Linked DNA regions of Homo sapiens: region 1 is linked to region 2. Evidence: promoter capture Hi-C in human tissues and cell types (Jung and others, 2019). All regions are on one chromosome and are shown on one strand. The core of a region is centred on a gene start or on the middle of the fragment in contact, and the rest is flanking DNA. Distances in the headings are between cores, read along the strand shown.

What was found. Contacts are between HindIII fragments. The study calls those that stand out against the background at their distance.
Region 1: a contact is called between a fragment that was not itself captured here and the fragment with the promoter of DBH in region 2, in 2 of the 25 tissues and cell types used here (IMR-90 fibroblasts and dorsolateral prefrontal cortex).

What each region holds. Positions count from the first base shown.
Region 1 is chr9:133,671,981-133,675,869 of GRCh38, forward strand. The region is part of intron 17 of SARDH (sarcosine dehydrogenase); the gene reads right to left. Among named protein-coding and RNA genes, the nearest start is that of DBH-AS1, 17 kb to the left of the region's middle. The HindIII fragment of the contact is 3,615 bases long and covers 725-3,889 here.
Region 2 is chr9:133,633,879-133,637,788 of GRCh38, forward strand. It overlaps DBH (dopamine beta-hydroxylase), which reads left to right and starts at 2,485. Exons shown (of 12, transcript NM_000787.4): 1 at 2,485-2,832. The coding sequence starts at 2,494. RefSeq lists an enhancer at 3,750-3,910. The HindIII fragment of the contact is 16,885 bases long and covers 327-3,910 here.

The sequences.
Region 1 (3,889 bases), core at 1,282-3,781, 38 kb after region 2:
ACCTGTCATAACAAACGACCACAACTGGTGGCTTAAAACAATAACAGTAAACTCTCTCTCGGTTCTGCAGGCTCAAAATCCAAAATCACCATGTGGGCAAGCCACGCTTCCTCTGCAGGCTCCGGAGACGACCCTTCCACTCTCGAGGGAGCCTCCTCCCGAGCACCTCCCGAGCACCTCCCGGCACCCCTTGGCTTGTGGCTGCACCACTGCGATTTCTGCCTCAGCCCTCACAGCCTCCCCTTTGTGTCTCTGTCTTCTAAGGACACTTGTCACTGGACTTAGGACCTTCCCTAGCCCTAGATAATATCATCTGGAGATCCTGACCTTAATTACACCTGCAAAGATCCTATTTCCAAACAAGGCCCCATTCACAGGTTCTGACGAGTTAGGATGTAGATATATGTTTTGGGGGTCACCATTCAGTCCACAGCAGTGACCTGGGGCAAGCTTCTCACCCTTCCTTGTCTGTAAGATGGGGTTGGGAGCCCAGCTTTATCTGTTTCAGAAGCTCTGAGACACGTCTGCGAGGAGCAGGGGGAAGGCAGCAGCCCAGCTCAGGGGACACCACCCTGGCTGCACCAGGTGGGGATAGAGGCATCAGGGAAGGGGACAGCCAGGTGCCAAGCCCGTTGTCCGAGGAGCCCGTCACCCACCAATTCTGGTCAGCCCCGGCCCAGCACCGGGCTCTGAAGACAGCCATAGCCTCTGCCCTTCAGGACTCAGCTCGGCCGTGAGCACAACCATGTTCTGGGTGAGGAAGGGGCCGGAAAGCAAGACCCCTGCCTGGGACGCCAGACCAGGCTAGCAGGCAGACCAGGAGATTGCCGTCGCAGACGGGCCTTCCAGGTGAGGTGCAAAGGCCCAGCGTTGGGCAGCGGACATGGTGGGAGGCAGGAGAGAAAGGCCTGTGGGGCTGTGGATACCTGACTGTGAAAGACACGATGGCTCAAGCCCTGCAGAAGTGACAGTGCCGATTATCGGGTGCTCTGGGCTAAGCTTCATCTCGTCCCTCCACGGCCCTTGCAACGGTGGGAACACGGTCAGTAATGTCTGTGGGCTGAGGCGGACACAGAGGCTCCCAGAGGCACTGAGCAGGGCCTAGGCACACCCTGCTCCGCTGAGGACAGCTGGTGTCTTTGGGAGGGTGTGTCCCGCACGCCTGCACAACAGGCTAGCACTCGGCTGCGTGGAGGCCACAGACAGCATGGGGGGCTTCTTGCACAGGAGGCGTGATTTTCCTCACACACTTGGTTCAGGTGCGTGGCACGTCCACACCCAGTAACTGGAGTCTGCGTCCTCACCTTCAGGCAAACCGTTGAACCCACTGACTCCCATGGGAAGGCCTGAGTGCTCAGCCCTGGGACCAGAGAGCTCACAAAAGGAATGGGGAGAGCTAGGCTGACTGCAGGATCCCAGACAGCGGAGGAGCTGATTCCACCACTGCTCTGAGTGGAAAGGCCCTCCCTGTACAGCTCCCGCTGGGATACGCCTGTGGGAAGGAGGGCAGAGGCCGCTCTCCCAACCACAGGGGCAGCTCCTTATAAACCTGACACTTTAATCACATGGCCGCCGAGGGGCTGGATTCTAAAAGCTTTGGAAATAGCGCAAATTTGCTCTAAGTTGCCATTTGCCCAGGCCTCCTAAAAAACTCAAAATTGACACAGAAAATATACTGTTGACATTTCCCTGCTTCCCTGGTGCAAGCCGTAGGCCCCTGACAAAGATTGCCTTGTCAACGGGGTTCTAATTTTAGATAGCCTATGGAGGAGCTCGGGGCTCAAAACCAATCTCATTTTGAAACAGGAAAAATAATTTTTAAAGTGCACCTATGCACGGCCCTCCAATTGCGGATCCCTGTTCAGACAAAGACCCGTCACCCAGCTCAGGGAGAGGGTTGGAGTTCACGGGTGGAAGGGAGGGAGCAGTCCCATCCTTCCTGGCTCCAGCAGCTCAGCGAGGATGGGGTCAGCTGGGTCTGGGTCTCCATTGTACGCCGTGCACAGCCTGGCCCAAGAAACAGTCCCTGAACGAAGGAGCAAAACGGGGGCCACACCTGCTTCCTGCCAAAGAGAGGGAGGCTGGGGAAATCCAGGGGCCTCTCTAAGTTCACGGAATCACTAGTTGTTGAGGCGTCTTACATTTTTCTCCACCAAAGCAGTGGAGTGGGATCAGTCCCCAGTTCTTCCAAGTGGGGACCCACAAGGAAAGGGACAGGCCAAGCGAGGACATCCAGAACAAACACGGGCTCCCAGTCAGCCGGGCTTGGGTGGGAACAGCGTCTCCCAGCGCCCATGGGGGTCGGCCCACTTGGCCTCAGTGCCCTGCTCTGACCCATCGGCCAGGGTTGGGTGCGTGTGCACCAAGCACATGGTCCCGGCACGTCGTCCTTGGCCACTCTGACTCAGGTGGGCTCTGAAAGCCCCAAATTGCAAGATGGAACTCCTGGCCGTGGATGGAGTCACAGAATTATGGAAGATCAGCAGGAAGGGTCTTATGTCAGGTTTTGTTTAAACCCTTTCCACATCCTGAAAATTCCATGCCAAAAAAGCCTGCTGAAACTATTAAACGAAATCAGCAAAGTTGGAGAAAGTGAAGTCAAATGAACCGTCACGTATGTGTTCACATGATCTCTACAAGGGCGCTGAGGCCACTCATGGGGAAAGAGTCTCCAACAAGTGGTGCTGGGAGGATCCGATAGCCACATGCAGAAGCGAGAAGCTGGTCGCGTACCTTACATCTTGTCCAAAAATTAACTAGACATGGAACAAAGACACAAGGGTAAGATCTGTAGCTGTACAACCTCTGGAAGAAGGCATGGGGAGTTGGAAATGGCAAGGGTTTCCTGGAGAGGACACCAAAAGCACAGGTCACAAAAGCAAAAGTCAGATGGAAGGACATTGATCACAAGCACATTTGTGCATCGAAGGACGCTAACAAAGAGTGAAAAGGCAACCCACGGGATGGGAGAGAACATTTGCAAGTCTTACATATGATAAGGGCCTTCTACCCAGACAGAACAAAGAACTCCTACAACTTAACAATAAAAAGTCAAATACCACCATTAAAAATGGGCAAAGGGGCCGGGTGTGGTGGCTCATGCCTGTAATCCCAGCACTTTGGGAGACCAAGGTGGGAGGACCATCTGAGGTCAGGAGCTCGAGACCACCCTGGCCAACATAGTGAAACCCTGTTTCCATTAAAAATATTTAAAAAAAAAATTAGTTGGGCATGGTGGTGCATGCCTGTAGTCCCAGCTACTCAGGAGGCTGAGGTGGGAGAATCACTTGAATCAAGGAGGTGGAGGCTGCAGTGAGCCGAGATTGTGCCACTGCACTCCAGCCTGGGCAACAGAGTGAGACTCCATTTAAAAAAAAAAAAAATAGGCAAGGGACTTGAATCGACAATTCTCAAAAGCAAATGCAAATGGCCAACAGGCCCAGGAAAAGATGCTCCACGTCACTACCCATCAGAGGCACGCAAACCCAAGTCACAGTGAGTTATCACTTTGTGCCCATGAGGATGACAATTATAAAAACAAGAAAAAGAAAGTAACGAGTGTTGGTGAGGATGTGGAGAAACTGGAACCCTTGTGTATTGTTAGTGGAAATGGAAAATGGTGCAAGCACTGTGGAAAACAGGGTGGCAGTTCTTTAAAACTTTAAAAATACAACTTCCATGTGATCCAGCAACCCCACTTCTGGGTATACACCCAAAGGAATTGAAAGGAGGGATTCGAAGAGGTATTTGCACACTCATATTCACAGGGTTATTCACAATAGCCAAGAGGTAGATGCAACCCAAGTGTCCATCAGCAGAGGATGAACAAGCAGGGCATAGTGGCTCACACCTGTAATCCCAGTACTTGGGGAGGCCAAGGCAGGAGGAC
Region 2 (3,910 bases), core at 1,235-3,734:
TGGTGCGGCCTGACTTGTGTCTCCTGTCCCTCCCTAGGACTTAGTTATCAGTATTTTGGAATCAGCTGAATCATTTCTGTCAAATGCTAGAGGAAAGCCAGTTTTGAGTTGGATAAAGAAAATGTCTTTGATTCCTGTTAAAAATAAACATGTGTGCATAACACTGCTGAGCACGAGACCGCACCTGCCGTCCCTCCTTAGAGCTCCCAGCAGCTGTTGGTCTTTGGCGTATCCGGGAGAGGAGCGAGGCCTGGAGGTGTGTTGAGCCGTCCAAGGGCTGGTAGCATCAGGGGCTCTTCACTGCCTCTCGCTCCACAGAACCGCTGGGTTGAAGGAAGCTGGAGGGATCAATTGTCCTTGTCATCCAACTTCCTGTGTCTGTAGATGGGGAGGAGGCGCTGGGTTGGAAAGCGCTTCTCTGAGGACGCCAGCTGCGCATTCAGGAGGGCGGAGCAGGATATGACCCCAGAGCTCTGACCCCGGAGGAGCAGGAGGGGTGCCTGGGGCCTCAATACCCCAGAGGGGAGAGAGGTGCCCCCCTTCCCACAACGCGGGCCCCAGCTGGTGCTCGTTTAGCCTGTTGTCTAGCTGGAGCCACCTGGGTGGCCACCAGGCTGCTGGGAGGGCTCACCCCTGAGCTGGGTGTGCTGTGGAGCCCGTGACCCTCACCTCTGCCTCTGCTGGCTTTTGTTATCCCGTGCTGGGAACACCAGTGCCTGCCCACCCCGGAGGCTCTTCGTATCACCGGCTCGCTGTGGCCGCTCCCCAGTCCCGAGAGTGAATGTCCGGGATGCAGCAGACACCTGCTTACAAGGCACAGGTGAGGAGGTTTTGGAACTAATCTGAGGCATGAAGGTGAGGTGCTCTCAGGCGACGGAGGTGGCATGTCCTGATGGGAAAGCCAGGCCTTCGGAGGCTGAGACCCTTCCCAAGGCTCACCAGAGAACTCCCAAGAGTGTCTTTCCCCTGGCCTGGGAGACAATTTCACACCAATGCCACACTCTATTGCACAGGTGATTATGCACTTGGACCTCACCTGCCTGGGCTGTGGGTGGGGGCGAACGGTGCCCCTCTGGGTGCAATCAGTGGGGAGGGGCTCATGGCCTGAGCTTGGCTTTGCAGGATGGCCTGGCCACTGTGGGGCAGAGAGCACTGCCTGCGAGGGCCAGGGGAAGGCTGGCACTTTCTCCAAATTTCACGTTCGTGCAAAGACACAGTCATTCCTTTCTACAGCGTAGAGCTCAGAGCTGAAGCAGCCTCCAGACCTGCTGTCATGGGTATTTAAGGACCTAAATGTTGCTGTCAGCCTATGACATGAATGTGCCCCTAAGGCTAGATTCTGGGTTTCTCCAGAGAGACGAGAAACAGGAGGGAAAAGGAAGGAAGGGAGGGAGGAGGCTGGGGAGGAGGGACAGCTTCTAGTCCAGCTGGAGAGATCTGTCAACCCAGCCTGGGGGGTGGAGCTGGAGGGATCAAGCAGAATGTCCTGAAGGCAGCTGCCCTCAGTCTACTTGTGGGAGAGGACAGGAGGGAGAGGTGCCGTGGTGAGACTGACCCTCGGGCCCACGGGTGGATGATGGCAAAGGTCCTGTGGCAGGTGTGGGAGAAGCAGGGCTGCGGCCAGCTGCCCTGAGAGGCTTCAAATTCAGGCCAGATCTGCTCTGGGCAAGAGGAAGCTGTGGGTTTGGGAGCTTCAGAGACAGGGGAGCAGGCCTGTCACTCACCCTCTTTTCCTTAAAGGCTGTCACCCCCAGCAGTGCACCCTGCAGCCTGCCTATCCCCTGTGCAGCTCCAGCTCCGTCTGTCCCCAGCAATGCACCCCACGCCCATGTCCCCCACTCCCTATGATGCTCTCGCGCCTTCTGGAGCAGCAGTGGTACCAGCTGGAGGCTGTGGAAAAATTGAGAGGAGACAAAAGTGGGAAGAGCAGGCCGTGGAGAGAGTGTCTAAACACAGGGACTATTTGGAGATTGTCTTATTTTTGGTTTGAAATGGGCCCACCTGCTAGTATTGTACAAACGGCTCTGCTCGCTAGGCCAGGCCTGCAGTGGCTACGGGCCTATCCTTCACTGGTCAGCCTGGAGCAGCTCCTCGGACCTCAGTCTGCTCATCCGTGGGTAGAGGCGACGCAGACCCCATCCCACTGGGGACTGGGCCAGACAGCCTGTGAGGCAGTCAGCTGGTGCCTGGCCAGAGGGTGTCTGAAAGGCCTCTTGGCTGCAGGGTGCATCTGCTTTTGGGACAGCTCTTCAGAGCCATCTCAGAAGGGACAGCATCCGCCTGTCTACTTCAACTCCCACTGATGACGTCCATGTGTCATTAGTGCCAATTAGAGGAGGGCAGCAGGCTGAGTGCTTGGCCTGGGGCGCAAGCTTGTGGGAGGGAAAATTGGATTCCCCGCTAGACAAATGTGATTACCCGTGCTGCCTGGACCCACCCCATTCAGGACCAGGGCATAAATGGCCAGGTGGGACCAGAGAGCTCACCCCAGCCATGCCCGCCCTCAGTCGCTGGGCCAGCCTGCCCGGCCCCAGCATGCGGGAGGCAGCCTTCATGTACAGCACAGCAGTGGCCATCTTCCTGGTCATCCTGGTGGCCGCACTGCAGGGCTCGGCTCCCCGTGAGAGCCCCCTCCCCTATCACATCCCCCTGGACCCGGAGGGGTCCCTGGAGCTCTCATGGAATGTCAGCTACACCCAGGAGGCCATCCATTTCCAGCTCCTGGTGCGGAGGCTCAAGGCTGGCGTCCTGTTTGGGATGTCCGACCGTGGCGAGCTTGAGAACGCAGATCTCGTGGTGCTCTGGACCGATGGGGACACTGCCTATTTTGCGGTGAGTCTCTCCTCCCTGCCAGCTCTCCAAACCCTTCCTGACCCGGCACCCCATCTGGCCGTCTTTCTGCACTCACCCTCCTTAACCCAGAAAGTTCTTCTGTCACCTGTCAGTGTTTGAGTTGACTCTGCTCTGAGCCAAGTCTGCACCCCGAGCTTGGGCATCATGGGGATCTCAGTTTGAGGACAAAATAGGAAAGACATGCTTTCCATGGTCCTTGACTGCCCGCCCCAAATCATGGGACCCAGTAATCCCAAGGAATGGAACTATACACAGAGGACGCACACACCACACACACTCGTGCCGCTCCACACCCCACACGCGCATGAGCACAGACCCCACGACCCTCGGCCCTGTAAACAATGCCTAGTACCACGTCCCCAGAGCACACATGCCCACTGATGTGGGCCAGGTGGTGGCGCGTGGCTGGGCACAGCATGAGGCCTGCACACCCATGGGATCCAGCCTGACCTACTGTGCTTGTACCCGTGGACCAACTGAGCAGGTGCAGACACCCTGCCCCTACCCATAGGTGTTGAACAAGCCCCACAGGGCTCAGCCAAAACTGTTAGGATGGGCTCTTGACTCCTTTCCGTCCAAATTTACCTCCACTCTTGTTTCACAGGGTGGAGAAAGGGGAAAAGTTTCCCTTCAAACTGGAGGGGACTTTAGGCCCTTCCACAAGCTGCAGGGGGTCCCCGAAGTGGGCGAGCCCACCGCCTACAATGGGTCCTGCTCCAGCCTTCCTTTCCACATGGGACTGGCCACCAGGGCTTCTTTGTGGATGAAACCCAACTCTCTCCACAGAAACACACAAAGGAGTGACAAAAAAGTTTTATTTCTGAAGTCAGGAGGTGCCTGCTTTATCTGGGAGTGCCGAGCTGGAGCGGGGGAGCTGTGTCTGTGCGGAGCGGCCGGCTCCAGCTCTGCATCTTGGTCTCACCATGGGCTGGTGGGGCGGAGAGTCCCTCTCTGCCTTTTTGGGTGTTGTGAATTCATGAGGGCAGATGGTGGCTGCTGTTTCTGGAGCTGAGCTTGCCCCCTCCAATTCCCAAGACTCGGCCAGGAGGCACTTGCC